Linked DNA regions of Homo sapiens: all the other regions are linked to region 3. Evidence: promoter capture Hi-C in 16 types of primary human blood cells and fetal thymus (Javierre and others, 2016). All regions are on one chromosome and are shown on one strand. The core of a region is centred on a gene start or on the middle of the fragment in contact, and the rest is flanking DNA. Distances in the headings are between cores, read along the strand shown.

The links. The method cuts DNA at HindIII sites, captures the fragments that hold promoters and counts their contacts. A CHiCAGO score of 5 or more calls a contact.
Region 1: a contact is called between a fragment that was not itself captured here and the fragment with the promoter of REV1 in region 3, in 1 of 17 cell types (erythroblasts). The highest score is 5.6, in erythroblasts.
Region 2: a fragment that was not itself captured here is called in contact with the fragment with the promoter of REV1 in region 3 in 1 of 17 cell types (megakaryocytes); the score reaches 5.9 in megakaryocytes.
Region 4: a fragment that was not itself captured here is called in contact with the fragment with the promoter of REV1 in region 3 in 1 of 17 cell types (neutrophils); the score reaches 5.9 in neutrophils.

What each region holds. Positions count from the first base shown.
Region 1 is chr2:99,102,553-99,105,914 of GRCh38, reverse strand. TSGA10 (testis specific 10) reads left to right here. Exons shown (of 21, transcript NM_025244.4): 8 at 218-388; 9 at 479-556; 10 at 1,797-1,948. It also overlaps the pseudogene SMC3P1. Among named protein-coding and RNA genes, the nearest start is that of C2orf15, 37 kb to the left of the region's middle. The HindIII fragment of the contact is 899 bases long and covers 1,598-2,496 here.
Region 2 is chr2:99,080,941-99,084,666 of GRCh38, reverse strand. It overlaps TSGA10 (testis specific 10), which reads left to right. Exons shown (of 21, transcript NM_025244.4): 11 at 3,270-3,385. Among named protein-coding and RNA genes, the nearest start is that of C2orf15, 59 kb to the left of the region's middle. RefSeq lists an enhancer at 2,110-2,868. The HindIII fragment of the contact is 6,735 bases long and covers 1-3,726 here.
Region 3 is chr2:99,488,185-99,491,613 of GRCh38, reverse strand. REV1 (REV1 DNA directed polymerase) reads left to right here and starts at 1,597. Exons shown (of 23, transcript NM_016316.4): 1 at 1,597-1,797. RefSeq lists an enhancer at 774-1,659 and silencers at 1,093-1,762, 1,873-1,972, 2,043-2,122. The HindIII fragment of the contact is 11,070 bases long and covers 1-3,429 here.
Region 4 is chr2:99,168,130-99,171,817 of GRCh38, reverse strand. MITD1 (microtubule interacting and trafficking domain containing 1) reads left to right here. Exons shown (of 7, transcript NM_138798.3): 3 at 172-308; 4 at 389-475; 5 at 1,166-1,281; 6 at 2,208-2,268; 7 at 2,348-2,555. The coding sequence ends at 2,443. Among named protein-coding and RNA genes, the nearest start is that of MITD1, 11 kb to the left of the region's middle. The HindIII fragment of the contact is 3,867 bases long and covers 1-3,264 here.

The DNA.
Region 1 (3,362 bases), core at 798-3,297, 390 kb after region 3:
TTTAGACTTTTGGCAAAGATGTTGTAACATGAACTTCTATTTAAATATATTCATTTTCATTTATTTGTATAAGCTTATTTTAAAATAAAAGCGATACCATTACCCTGCTGCATGCATGTTGATGTAGGTTTGCATTTTAACTGGCTAGATACATAAAATTTTTTATGTTTATGTGTTCTAAAGCTTGTTCAACCAAAGTCTATGATTTAAATAATAGGCACAGGAAGAAATTACCCGACTTCGACGAGAAATGATGAAAAGCTGTAAGAGTCCTAAATCAACAACGGCACATGCTATTCTCCGGCGAGTGGAGACTGAAAGAGATGTAGCCTTTACTGATTTACGAAGAATGACCACAGAACGAGATAGTCTAAGGGAGAGGCTAAAGGTTGGAAAGGATTTTATTTACGTGAATATATGTGAAACACAAATTCAGGGATATTGAAATCACTTTATTTTGTTTTTGCTTTTTAATCAGATTGCTCAAGAGACAGCATTTAATGAGAAGGCTCACCTGGAACAAAGGATAGAGGAGCTGGAGTGTACAGTTCATAATGTAAAAAAAAAAAAAAAGAAAAGTCTCTTTTGGCTATAAACACTCAATGGCTTTCCCCTTTCTCCTTTTTCTGTATTCAGAGAAGTTATTTTATTTTTCTAAGATAGTGTTTATAGTCCTAAAATACTTAAGGTATTTTATAGTGTAAATTGTCACTTTTTCATTTGTTTATTTCCTTCTAAAAATGTGAGTAAATGTTTTTTGGTGTTAGGTTGCAAAGTATGTACTTTAAAAAAATCATTAGGCATTCATTTTCAGGGATCTTATCTACTTTCTCATCTCCATATTTTGTTAAAGATAATATTGCCAGATGTAAAGAAAATGGTTTATTCTACCTAAAGAGTGGATAAGGAGAGAAAATTATGATGAAATAAAAATTATAAGCAAAGTTTATTTAAACTAAATTTAAATGTGAAACATCACCTTTTTCCTAATCAGATTTGATATTGCTACGAATATATATTGATGATATTGTCACTATATAAACATAAGAGAATTTAACTTTCTATTACCAAATATAATTGAATATATTTATAAGTTCATCTGTACTGTTTTATTGTAATGAGTTAAAAATATGAGATAGGGGCTGGGCACGGTGGCTCATGCCTGTAATCCCAGCACTTTGGGAGGCCAAGGCGGGTGGATCACCTAAGGTCAGGAGTTTGAGACCAGCCTGACCAATATGGTGAAACCCTGTCTCTACTAAAAATATGAAAATTTGCCAGGTGTGGTGGCATGCGCCTGTAGTCCCAGCTACTTGGGAGGCTGAGACAGGAGAATTGCTTGCACCCGGGAGGTGGAGATTGCAGTGAGCCGAGATCGCGCCACTGCACTTCAACCTGGGCGATGGAGCGATACTCTGTCTCAAAAAAAAAAAAAATTACTAGACAGGAGAAAATAATTTTTGTTTTCATAATTCTACATTATATGTGTAATTTATTAATGTTGGGCAACAAATAAATTCTTTTGCAAACAGCATATTTATACTATAGTCAAATTGAACCAGATTGAAAAATATAGACTGATATACTGTGATAAGCTTTACTTTGCAGTGGCTTTTCCTTGGTCCTACTTCACAACACCTTATCTGTAAAACCTTCTACAGCAGTCAGGTCTAACCTGATAATCTCATCCTGTCAGTCTTGCCATAAACCAGTTTGTACAGAGGGAGTATGCCCTTCAGGAAGATTACTAAGGTGTTTTTAGTGATGGCAGTAACCTTGTCATTCTACTTGTATAGCTTGATGATGAACGTATGGAGCAAATGTCAAATATGACTTTGATGAAGGAAACCATAAGCACTGTGGAAAAAGAAATGAAATCACTAGCAAGAAAGGCAATGGATACCGAAAGTGAACTTGGCAGACAAAAAGCAGAGAATAATTCTTTGAGGTAAACTAAATCACCTTTAAACAACCAACAGTTTACTATAACTATAGCTCTGCTTTTTATAGTGTATTTTATAATGAAAATTATTTGTTGAGTTCAGTTTCTGAGAGGATTATTGAAAAGCAGTTGTAGGAACCCTTGGCACACAGTGAACAATTTTCCTGAGCTCAATCACAGGCTGGTAATGCCACACTTAACTAGGAATCACACTTCTAGTAATCTTACTTTACATTTGTAAAAAACTTCAACTTTTAACTGAAATAGCTTTTACAAAGCTCTTCTGGGTACAGAATATATTTGACTTTGATTGTTTACCTTTATAACTTTAAATTCTGTTTGGGGATATGAACAGTATAAGAAAACACAAAGCACAGGTTTGGCAGTTGCTTAGAAAAAGGGTGATTTAGAATATAATGAAAAGCCGTAACAGAGAAATAGGAGCACGTGATGGAGCATCTATTAATTGAATGCAAGTACTATACTTAGCCTTTCCTGTGTACTGGCATGGTTGCCGAAGATGTATCAATTGAAGCAGCCTACAGCAATAAGCTTGGGAGAATGAGTTTTTGAAGACCTCTACATGAGTGGTTTTACTTTTAGTATCTGTTGCTGTGAGAAACAGAGGTTCTACAGATTCAGTAAGGTTGAATTTCATTGCATCTATGAACATTGAAAAATAGTAATAGCTTAATATCTAGGTGACGGGTTGATCTGTGCGGCAAACCACCGTGGCACATGTTTACCTGTGTAACACACCTGCATGTTCTGCACATGTACCCCGGAACTTAAGAAAGAAAAATAGTAGTTCACACTCCTATTAATGCTGAGATTACAGGCATGAGCCACCGGGCCTGGTCTTTCTTAACAATTTTTTTTTTTTTTTTTTTTAGTCATAAAACCAATTATTTAATTGAAGCTATAAAAAAGGCAGTATAAGCGATAAAATAATTAGGAAAGAATATTTAGCATGTTTCAAAACATTTAAAATAGGAGCAGAACATTTTACAAAAAGTTGTACAGGAAATTAAATTCTAAAACTGTAAGTACAAACATGACATTACAGAGTATCTTATAAAATACAAAGACAAATATAAAAGGACTATGATGCTTTAAGTCTGAAAACTATTGGCCAAATATTTAGGTTTATATTTACAGTTCTGGGTATGAGAATCATATTACTATACACAACTCCCAAACCAGTAAGTAGTATTTTCCAATTAACCATGTGTGGTATCATCTTCTACAAAGTCTTTGGCCATCTCCGCTGTGATCACATCAATATGACTAACCTTATTTCTGAACTTTACACCATAGAATTTGTCAGCTGACTCAAGCAGTTCAGGCCTAAAAGTAGTTGTAATAAACTGAGCATGTACAGCAAGTTCCATAATCATATCTGACACAGCCTTTCTGTGCT
Region 2 (3,726 bases), core at 169-2,668, 410 kb after region 3:
ATCAGGAGGCTCTATTAGTCTATTCTTGTGTTGCCATAAAGAAATACCTGAGTGTGGGTCATTTTAAAAGAAAGGAAATTTATTTTAGCTTATGGTTCTGCAGGCTGTACAGGAAGCATGGTGCTGGCATTTGCTTCTGGTGAGGGCACGAGACAGCTTGCCATCTTGGTGGAAAGCAAAGGGGGAGCCAGTGCATCACATGACAAGGGCAGGAGCAAGAGAAAAGGGGAGGTCCCAGATTTCTTTGAACAGCCAGATCTCATGTGAACTAACTAGCGAGATCTCACTTATCACCAAGGGGATAGTGTTAAACCATTCATGAGGGACCTGCCCCCGTGATCCAGTCATCTCTTCCCCAGGCCCCACTTCCAACATTGGAAATCACATTTCAACATGAGATTTGTAGCGGACAAACATCCAAACCATATCAGATGCATTCCTTAACAGCCTTGGCTGCATATTAGAATCAAATGAGGAGCTTTAAAAAACAATAGTGATGTTAATTCTCATTCCCAGAGATTTTAATTTAATTGGCATAATTGTGCAGCCTAACTCTAGGACTTTTTTTTGTTTTGCTGCTTTAAAATAATTTCATAATTTGTAGGAAGTTACAAAAATATACAGATAAGTCGATGTATTCCCGTCACCCACTTTCCCACAATGATTACATTTTATATCACTATAGTACAATATCAAAGCCAGAAAATTGACATTGGTACAATGTGTGTGCATAGTTCTGTCATTTTATCACATATGTAGTTTCATGTAACTACTACCACATTCAAGACACGGAAAGTCTATTACCGCAAAAATATCCCTCATGCTACTCCTTTACAGTCACATCTCCTCTTCCCCCACCATGATCCCTAATATCTGACACTAATCTGTTGTCCAACTCTGTAATTTTGTCATTTCAAGAATGTTATAGGAAGAGTCATACAGCCATGATTTTCAAGATTCGCTTGAAAACTCAGAATAATGCCATTGAGATCCAGCCAAGTATTAAATTTTGCTACTTTTTAATATTGCTGAGTAACATTCCATAGTATGAATGTACCATAATTTGTTCAGCTATTCACCTGGTGAGGGACATTTTGATTTTTTCCAGGTTTTGGCTGTTAAAAATAAGGTAGACCATATGCATTTAATATAATTATTGGTAGGGCTCAATTCTCCATGTTATTTTTTGGGGGTGTTTTTCGTTTGTTTCTTTCCTCTGTTTCTCATGTCTCTGTTTTTGTTTTCCTGCCTTTTCATGGATTACTTGACATTTTTTAGAATCCCATTTTTGATATCTGTAGTATTTTTGAGTGTCTATAGATTTTTCAGTGGTTGCTCTGTGAATTGTACTTACTTATCACGATCCACTGGTGTCACATTTTATCAGTTTGCATAAAGTATAGAAATCTTGTCTCCTTTTAAGTCCTTTTATCCTCCCCCATTTATAATTGTCTTAATAGATACAGGTTAATACCTCTTTAGTCTTGGATTTCATCTTTTATTAGGTATTATTTTGTTGAATATTGTCTTTATTCTTCCCTACTGGGATTTTGATTTGGTAAATATTGGACCTTCTTATTCTGTCTTTTATGTCTGTTAACCTCTATTTTGTATTTTTTCATTGTTTTATTTGTGCTCTAATATAGGACCTCTGATCTGTTTTTTTCCCCAGTTTACCAGTTATCTCTTTCACAGTGTCTATTCTGTATTTTTAACTTGTCCACTGAGTTTTGTAATCTTTAAAATTTTGATGTTAGTTTAATTTTGTGAAGTTCTATTTGGTTCTTTTCCAAATTTGTTGATTATTTTTTTCTTTATATATCCTATTATTTTATGTGTTTGTATTTAAACACATGTATTTCTAAGTTTCTATTTGATAGTGCTGTAGTCTGAAGTTCTTAGGGATCTAATTTAGTTTGTGTGTCTTTTGACTCCCACTAAGGTTGGATTGTTTCTTGATGTATTTTTAAATTTTGAATTATGAGATCCTTTTCCATAGGCCTTTGTCTGGGGTTAGTTCTGTGCTTGGGTTGAGAGCATGCCTCCAGAGTTTTGCAAGGGGTTCCTGATTATATGACCAATCGGGAACCAAATTTTATTTTGATGCTTAGATTGAGATTAAGACTCTTTGTTGTGTTATACCCAAGCGAGTTAGAGAAAACGCCACACTTTGAGACGAATTAAGAGTCCTTTATTAAGCCGGCGGCCAAAGAGACGGCTAACGCTCAAAATTCTCTCAGCCTCGAGGAAGGGGCTTGATTAACTTTATACCTTAGTTTAGGAAGGGGAGGGGAGCTCAAATGCAATAATTCTACAGAAGTAAAAACATGCAAGAATCAAAAAAACAAATGGTTACAGAGAGATTAACAATTTAAAAGGCAAATGGTTACAAAAAAAAGCAACGGAACCAGGTGCGGGGCTCTAAATCCTTTGTTAGATATGGATGCTATGCTGGACACAGACTCAAGGCTTTATGTTGTTATCTTTTTGAGCAAAATCCTGGGAACTTCACACATTGTTTGTTCCAGTACCTTATCAGTTAATTTGGCTCCTTTGAAATGCTGAGGGTCTGCTTACACAGGTTAACTCCTTGAGGAAGGGGGTCGGGTAAGGAGCCCTTAATGTCTTGTAAATCAAGGGGCCAAATGGAGTTTGTCCGGCTTTCCCAGCTAAGGGAGAGTCTTATTTATATGGGAAACAAGGCTAGGTAGTTAAGGAGACAAAAAGGGAAAATTTAAAAATAGAGTTAGTAAAAAACAAGGTTAGGCATTACAGTTGTTATTATTTTCCTGAGCCTAGCAGCAATTGACAAGGTGTTTTTCTCTAGTCTGACCTTCTCACTAATGGTATATCTCTCCATATTTACATGGGACACCTTAGTTCTATTTCCTGTGTTGCAGACATCTCTATGGCCTCATCTTGTTTCTGAATTAAAACATAAAACCCTAGGCTATTGAGACAGACAAACCCCAACCAGAGCTAACATAGTAGTTCCTAATCTGATTGCTCTGATTTGGCATTAGGGGACCTAAGGAAGGTATTATGACCAAAATGCTAATAGTAGCTTATGTTGGAGTGGTGGATTGAAGATCCCTTCTTACCCTTTATTTTTTAAACTTCCTGGTTTTATAATGAAAATATTAAAACTGTATAAAAATATTAAGAGGAAATAAATATATTAGTGTCCTTAAAAGTTTTTAGATTTAAACACACTACAAGATGACAAAACAAAAATTTCAGAATTAGTTTTATTATTAAAATATTTGCAGACTTTTGTATGAAAACACAGAAAAAGATCTTTCTGATACTCAGCGACACCTTGCTAAGAAAAAATATGAGCTACAGCTTACTCAGGAGAAAATTATGTGCTTGGATGAAAAAATTGGTGAGTTTTTTTCTCTTAATATTACTTTTAGTTTTTCTTAAGTTTGGTAGCAAAGATGTATTTTCTTCTCTTCAGTATAACATAGAAAAACTTGGAAACAAGCCCTTAACTAAGTTTATGAATAAAAAATAGTAGAGAAATTCATTTTTCTTTGACAGCAAAATTTTTTAGATTTAGCACCATAAGTACTTAGTGATAAGTTAAAATTTATCAATGAAGTAATAGCTAAACTCAGCAGCAACAGTTTGTAAACTTACGATGATAACTTAAATTTGAATTTTTTGTGTAATATTGTAGCTTGTCCATAGCTGCTGTAATGAAACAGTACCTATATATTACTT
Region 3 (3,429 bases), core at 348-2,847:
GCAACTGGTCGTGAGTCTGTTAAAATTATGGGCAGGCACGGTGGCTCACGCCTATAATCCTAGCACTTTAGGATGCCAAGGCTGGTGGATTACCTGAGGTCAGGACTTCCAGACCAGCCTGGCCAACATGGTGAAACCCCCTCTCTACTAAAAATACAAAAATTAGCCGGGCATGGTGGCGCATGCCTGTAATCCCAGCTACTCGGGAGGCTGAGGTGGGAGAATCACTTGAACCTGGGAGGCGGAGGTTGCAGTGAGCCGAGATCGCGCCATTGCACTCCAGCCTGGGCAAAAGAGCAAAACTTCGTCTCAAAAGAAAAGAAAAGAAAAGAAAGCAATTACGCAATTTGTTTTAAATTATGACGTCTTTGAAAAGTATGCAATCTAAATTCGTTGGATTAGCGACGAGAATACTGAAGTTGAAGTGCATTTATAGAAGTCTATAAAATGGCAAAAAACTGAAAGGGAAAGAAATGAGCTATTTGAGTATTCTCTGTGTTGCTAGTAAACAAGTTCCAACTCTGCAAATCAGTTTTCAAAAGAATACTGATTGTTTCCTAAGTACCTGCAAACTCTGAAGCATTTTAGGCAAGGGAATGAGTGGGAAAAAAGTATCTTCATGTTTGTGCATTACAACAATAAAGACTATTATGTAACAATGTGGAGTCTTCAAAGCGACCCTGCCAAGAGGGAGAAAGTGGTCCTTATGGACGGATTGTTTTCTGCTAGAAGGCCCTCAATTAGAATTGTACTTACGCATACATAATATAGGATATTATTTTTATATTCATAGAAAACTGCTTTCTCGGGTAACTCCAGCGCTGTACATGGGATGGGATACCGGCCCTCCGTTTACAAATACTCAGGCGCAATGCTGCCCGGGCACTCAAAGGACAGAAGATAGTGTCTGTGCCCTGCGGGAGCAGGCCACGAATCCCGAAAACGCCGTGGCGCAGTGCTCCTTCCCGCGAACCTGAGTGGGCCGTGGTTCTCGGTTGCTCTGGACATAGGAAAATGTCAGTTCATGTGTGTCCCTTTCTCCACTAGATGTCACTGTAAATCAATTGCTTAAGGAGGGAACCCGGGCGTCTGGCGCATCTTCACACAGTACCGGGGTTTGAAGCCCGGTCAGTGTCTGCACTTGTGTCCTTCCCCACTGGGGAGCCCCAAGGCGGGGCAGGCGCGGGGACTCGCTGTGCACGGAGCGGCGCGCTGTCCGAATGGCAACCGAAGAGCCGCGACCCGGTCAACGAAGCGCGGGGGTGACCGGAGCAGGACGGGCGGGCAGGCGGCGCAGTGCGTGGGCGGGCCCGCGCTGCGCTCCCCTCCGCCCAGCTAGCGAGACGGTCACGTGCCGCCCAGGCGCTGCCCCTTGCGGGCGGCTGCAGAACAACAGGGCGGGGCCGGGGAGGGGAGGAACACGGAGGCCGACGCCGGGCGCCGCGGTGCTACGCCCGAGGCTGGGGTCGCCCCGGGCCGGGGGGAGCAGAGCGCGTGCGCCGCGCGGCTGTGAGCGCGAGCGGGGCCGGGGAGCGCGCGCGGAACGCTAGGGGGCGTGGCTGCGGCGCGCGCGCTAACCGGAGGGGGAGGGGCGGAGAGCCACCGCGGAGCGCGCGCGGGGTTGGTTGCCGCGAGCGTGGGGGAGCGTGGACCGCGGCGCTGCTCAGCGGTGGGGCTGCCTTCCCCCGGCCCTCCTCCCTGGTCCCTGGCGAGGGCACTGGCGGCGGCGGGGCCGGGGTCCGCAAGGCCGGAGAAGGCCGCCGGGCCCGGGCATGGTGGTCTGGGGCAACGCGGAAGGTGAGCGACCCCCGGGCCGGCGGCGGGGTGGGGGAGGGGCGGGATCGGACACGCGTCGCCCGGAGGCGCCGCAGACCCGCCCGGCAGCGGCCAGAGCGCGGTCGGCCTGAGGTGGCGCGGGGGAGGGGTGCGTCGCCCCGGCCCCGGCCCGCGGCCGTCCTGTCGCGGCCTGGGCTGTCCACGGCGCCTTCCCCTGACGCTCGCAGCCGCCGGGTTATGTAATGTGTGACCTCCCCTCCCCTTCCCTTCCGTCATGGCGCGGCCGGCCCCGCGCCGCCGCCAGCCCCATGGGCCGCCCCGCGCCGACCCCTGGCGCAGCGGCCCTTCCCTCCGCGCCCGGCCGCATCCCGCCGGCCCGGTCAGACCGCGCCGCAAACTCCTTCCTCCTGCGCCGGCGCCTCGGCCGGCCATTCAGTTCCGCGCCATTCATTCACGCGCGCGTTCGGGCGTTCGTTCCACAAGCGTTTGTAGAATGTCGACCCGGTCGAGCCGCCGCTCCCACCCGCACTCCAGCCACAGCGTTTTTCCGCACCCCGCCTTCGACGTCCCCGGTGCATCCCAGAACCGGTCGGAATGTCCGAAGGCGGTTGTTGCTCCCTTGTTTTTCCTTGCTGCTTGTCCGTTCGCTAAATACGCTGGGCGCCGTTCCCCAACTGTCCTTCCGAGAGCCCCTTGCCCACTTCTGTACTGTTACAGTGACGCCGCTCTGGGCGCACCGAGCCGCGCTGTGTTTCGCTGCTCTTCCTACCTATTCTCAGTTTGTAAAGAAATAATCTCACATAACACTCCTTAATGTACTCCTCCGTAAGATAAATTGCAGATAATATACGTCTGCTAATTCTCTTTATCTCCACGTCTTCTCACGCCATGTACTAAGTAGAAATGGTTTCATTTAGGTGAAAATAATGCAGACTAGCACATAGCACAACAAGGGCTTGTAACTATTAAGGACTTTATGTAACAGTCTGTAATTCTGTGTATCTGTCTGGTCTTTCCGGACTTGGCACTTTAGTCTCCGAGAATAAGCCATTTCCTGTTTAGGTAGGGTAGGACCAACCATAACCTTGGTTCTTTCTATGGAGTTCTGTATGTAGCAAATCAGCCTGTGGGAACCATCTATCTGTCCACCAACCTTTCACACATATTCTTGGGTTTGCCCGTGCAGGGACCAGTGCTGCGTATTGTTCCCTGCCTTCCTGTACTGGACACTTAAGAGCTCACCTAAAGTTCCTCTTCCAGGAATCATTCTCCAGTATACAAGGCTCTCTTCCATTCAATTCTTAGGCTATTTGCGCCTTTTCCTGTGTTGCGTTTATCTTTTTAGCCCTGTCTTCTCTTACTGTGTAGGACCTTTTGAGGGTAGAGTCTGTACCAAACTCCTATCTTTTGTTGTAGAACCTTAACCGCTATTTTACGGTAAACCGTACATATTTAATTTTTTTTGTAAAGATGGGAATTGCTCTTTTAAAATTAATTTCTATGAGGTCTCAAGTAGAACATAATTTTTAAAAAATAATGTGCTTGAATATATAAGATCACTACATTTCCAACTTCCCACTCGCAACTTCAAAACTCTGATTCTACATAAGAGCATTAAGGAAACGTTGTCCTCACCAGCAACAAACTGGTCAT
Region 4 (3,688 bases), core at 82-2,581, 320 kb after region 3:
GTGTAACATCCTGCAATGTATATGATATTTAGTAGGCATTCAATAAGTATTTGCTGAATAAGTTAAAAAAATTAATATGTATCTGATGCTGATTAATCACTCTATATAAAATATAAAATGTGTAAAAAAAAAATGGTCACTGGTTTTACTGTTGAAGCCTGTGTTTTATAGATGGAAAATATCACAAGCAAATTAAAATAGAAGAGAATGCAACAGGTTTCAGTTATGAGTCACTTTTTCGCGAATACCTTAATGAGACAGTTACAGAAGTTTGGATAGAAGATCCTTATATTAGACATACTCATCAGGTATGTGAACATACTAAAATATAATGAAATATCATATTCAATGTACTAAATTAGTAATAATCCATTCTAATGTCTTTTAGCTGTATAACTTTCTTCGATTTTGTGAGATGCTTATTAAGAGACCATGTAAAGTAAAAACTATTCACCTTCTCACCTCTCTGGATGAAGTAGGTACCTGAAAGCACTTACTCTTTCTTATTAACTTTATTCAGTTACAAGATGTAGTCCAGTCAAGGAGAACACAGATGCAGTGCTTCAGCTAGATTTGTTTCCTTGGGAATTAACTTATTATCTAACAGTATGCATAACATGTCATAAAAAAAGTTATTGATTTTAGGATGCTGATTTTGTATTTGGCCACTTTGCTAAATGCACTTATTCAAATAGTTTGTTAGTTTAGTCTCTTGGATATTCTAGGAGGCAATCACACTGTCTGCACTATGAACAATTTTGTTTCTTTACCAATTATTATATCTGGGGGATGGTAGCATGATATGATATGGTAGTGGGCATCTCTATCTTGGTTTTGACTTAAAATAAGAATGCTTCTAAATAATTATGATTTCTACGATTGATTTCAAAAGCAGTCAGCTCCACCTGGATGATTAAAACTATTCTAAACTACATTTAAGGAGACAGGATGGAGTTATGTTCACATTAGAAAAAAAGATGATTTTGATAAAAATAATTGCTCTTTAAACTACCTCACATTGGTTGTTTTTTTGAGATAATAGACATTGAAACTAGTATAGAACATTTCCATCTTAATCCACCTGTGATATAGATTGTATAGCTTAGGGATAATTTAAGATAGTAATAATAACTGCGGCAGATAATCGTATTTTTGCTATTAACAGGGCATTGAGCAAGTGCAGCAAAGTAGAGGCCTGCAAGAAATAGAAGAGTCACTCAGGAGTCACGGAGTGCTGTTGGAAGTTCAATACTCTTCTTCAATACATGACCGAGAAATTAGGTTAGTCTACAATAATGTTTTAATTTTTATGCAGTTGATATATACTTAAAATTTTTGTAAATGTTTTATATAATTGCCTATAAATATTTAATAATTTATAAATATTTAAAATTCAAATAAAACTCCATTTAGTACTTTTTCACTTTTGAGAAGAAAAAAAACACTTGGCTTTCTTTTTGACAAAGTAAGCCAAGTGTTTTGTGTGTGAGTTTAATATTTCCTAATGGAATAGTATTTACATGTTCTGTGTCATATAGAAAAAGAGAACACTTTTCTGTCTACTCAACTGTATATATAGTGTTATGATATTAGGATAATTTATTTTCTAGTGAACTTAATATTTACTTAATGTGGCTTTACTTCTTAGGGGTTATTAAATATTCTAGTAGGCATGACAATTTGCTGAGTCTATAAGAAAACAGAATATGCAGTTATTTTAGTGATATCTTCCTTTTGTTTAGCACAGTGGTTATGTTTATAGCAAGGGCACTCAGTTTTAATAAAAACTTAATCACAAACTAAATATGCAAAACAGATGAAAATGCAGCTGCTGTAGTTAAAGCAGAGGTCAGGGTCCAGGGCTCCTCCTGCACATTCCCCATCTCTAGGTAGGGGAACTCTTGAAACACCACCAGTTTCCCTGAATACACTTTGCCACCACTTGTTAGCAGAACACGAAAAAGTTTTATCAACAAGCTGAAATTCAAGATTAAACTATCAGATAATTAAATCAACTGATTGTTTCTATGACTGTTTTCATTGTGGACACAGCTCATAATGAACCCCAGGTTTGATTCAACTCATGCCACTGGAGGAAGTGGTTTGCTTTGTTAGGGGGAAATTTTGCTGACACTTAATACACTACAGCTTTATTAATAGTCTGACTTAAATGTCTTGAATATAATACTATATACTAATTTCAACAGGTTCAACAATGGATGGATGATTAAGATTGGAAGGGGACTTGATTATTTTAAGAAACCACAGGTAGGATATAATCTTATGAGTAAATGTGTAGCACTGTTTTTGTATCATTTTTAATGATACTCTTTTCTTCTCTTCTTAGAGTCGTTTTTCCCTTGGATATTGTGATTTTGATTTAAGACCATGTCATGAAACAACAGTAGACATTTTTCATAAGAAGCATACAAAAAATATATGATGGGTGGTAGCCTAATTTGTATTATGTCTACTTTAAGTGAATATTGGATTTTTTTTAAAAGATCACTTTTATAATGTATGAATTTAACAATAAACTTTTATATTTCTACTAATTTATGGATCCATCATTCAGTTGTGGGAACAATCCTAAATATTTTTGTAAATATATTACTCAGCAGATTTACAATGTTTCTTTCAAGTAATACAGCTAATTTAAACATTTTACCAGCTTCTCTGTTACTTGGCTGCGGGAGCATGTCAACAAATAATAAGCATCTATTAGGAAGATGAATTAGATCTTAATTTTGCCTGTGGGAGTTTTAAGTCCAGGAGGGAAAGACACCATGGATTAGAGTGCTTTTAAAGAGACAGATGGAGCTTGGGCAACCTGTATCAGAAAAAAAAAAAAAAAAAAAAAAAAAAAAAAAATTAGCCGGGCATGGTGGCATGTGCCTATAGTCCTAGCTACTTGGGAGGCTGAGGTGGAAGGATCACTTGAGCCTAGGAGGTTGAGGCTGCAGTGAGCTGAGACTGCACCACTGCACTCTAGCCTGGGTGACAGAGCCAGACCCTGTCTCAAAAGAAAAAAAAGAGACAGATGGGCTTGGGGTCTAATAAACAGGAAAGTAAAATGTTAATTTTGTTACAATTAAGAGAATTGTCTTTGGTAAACATTTACCATCATGCAGTTGTGCAGTATTACCTAACTCCATGAAGGCAAATCAACCCATTCAGTTATCCAAATGCATTTTGCAGCTCATTCACTTTGGCTGGCACATTTGTAAAGCCTTGCAGCTTAGAATCAACTGTTCTGGGTAAGCTTTTCATCCAGATGCCAGTTGTGTGGTTGGAGACAGAATAGATTCCATGGAGACAGGCTGAAGAGGGGTTGTATGCTAGAGGTAGTGGGCGGTCCACAGCTCAAAGAACATGCTGGCTGGGCACAGTGGCTCACGCCTGTAATCCCAGCACTTTGGGAGGCAAAGGCAGGCGGATCACCTGAGGTCAGGAGTTTGAGACCAGCGTGGCCAACATGGAGAAACCCCGTCTTTATTAAAAATACAAAATTAGCCAGCCGTGGTGGCGCATGCCTGTAATTCCAGCTACTTGGGAGGCTGAGGCAGGAGAATTGCTTGAACCCTGGAGGTGGAGGCTGCGGTGAGCGGAGATCATGCCATTGCACTCCAGCCTGGGCAACAAGAGTAAAACTCCATCTCAAAATAAAAAAAGAAACAAATAAAAAAAC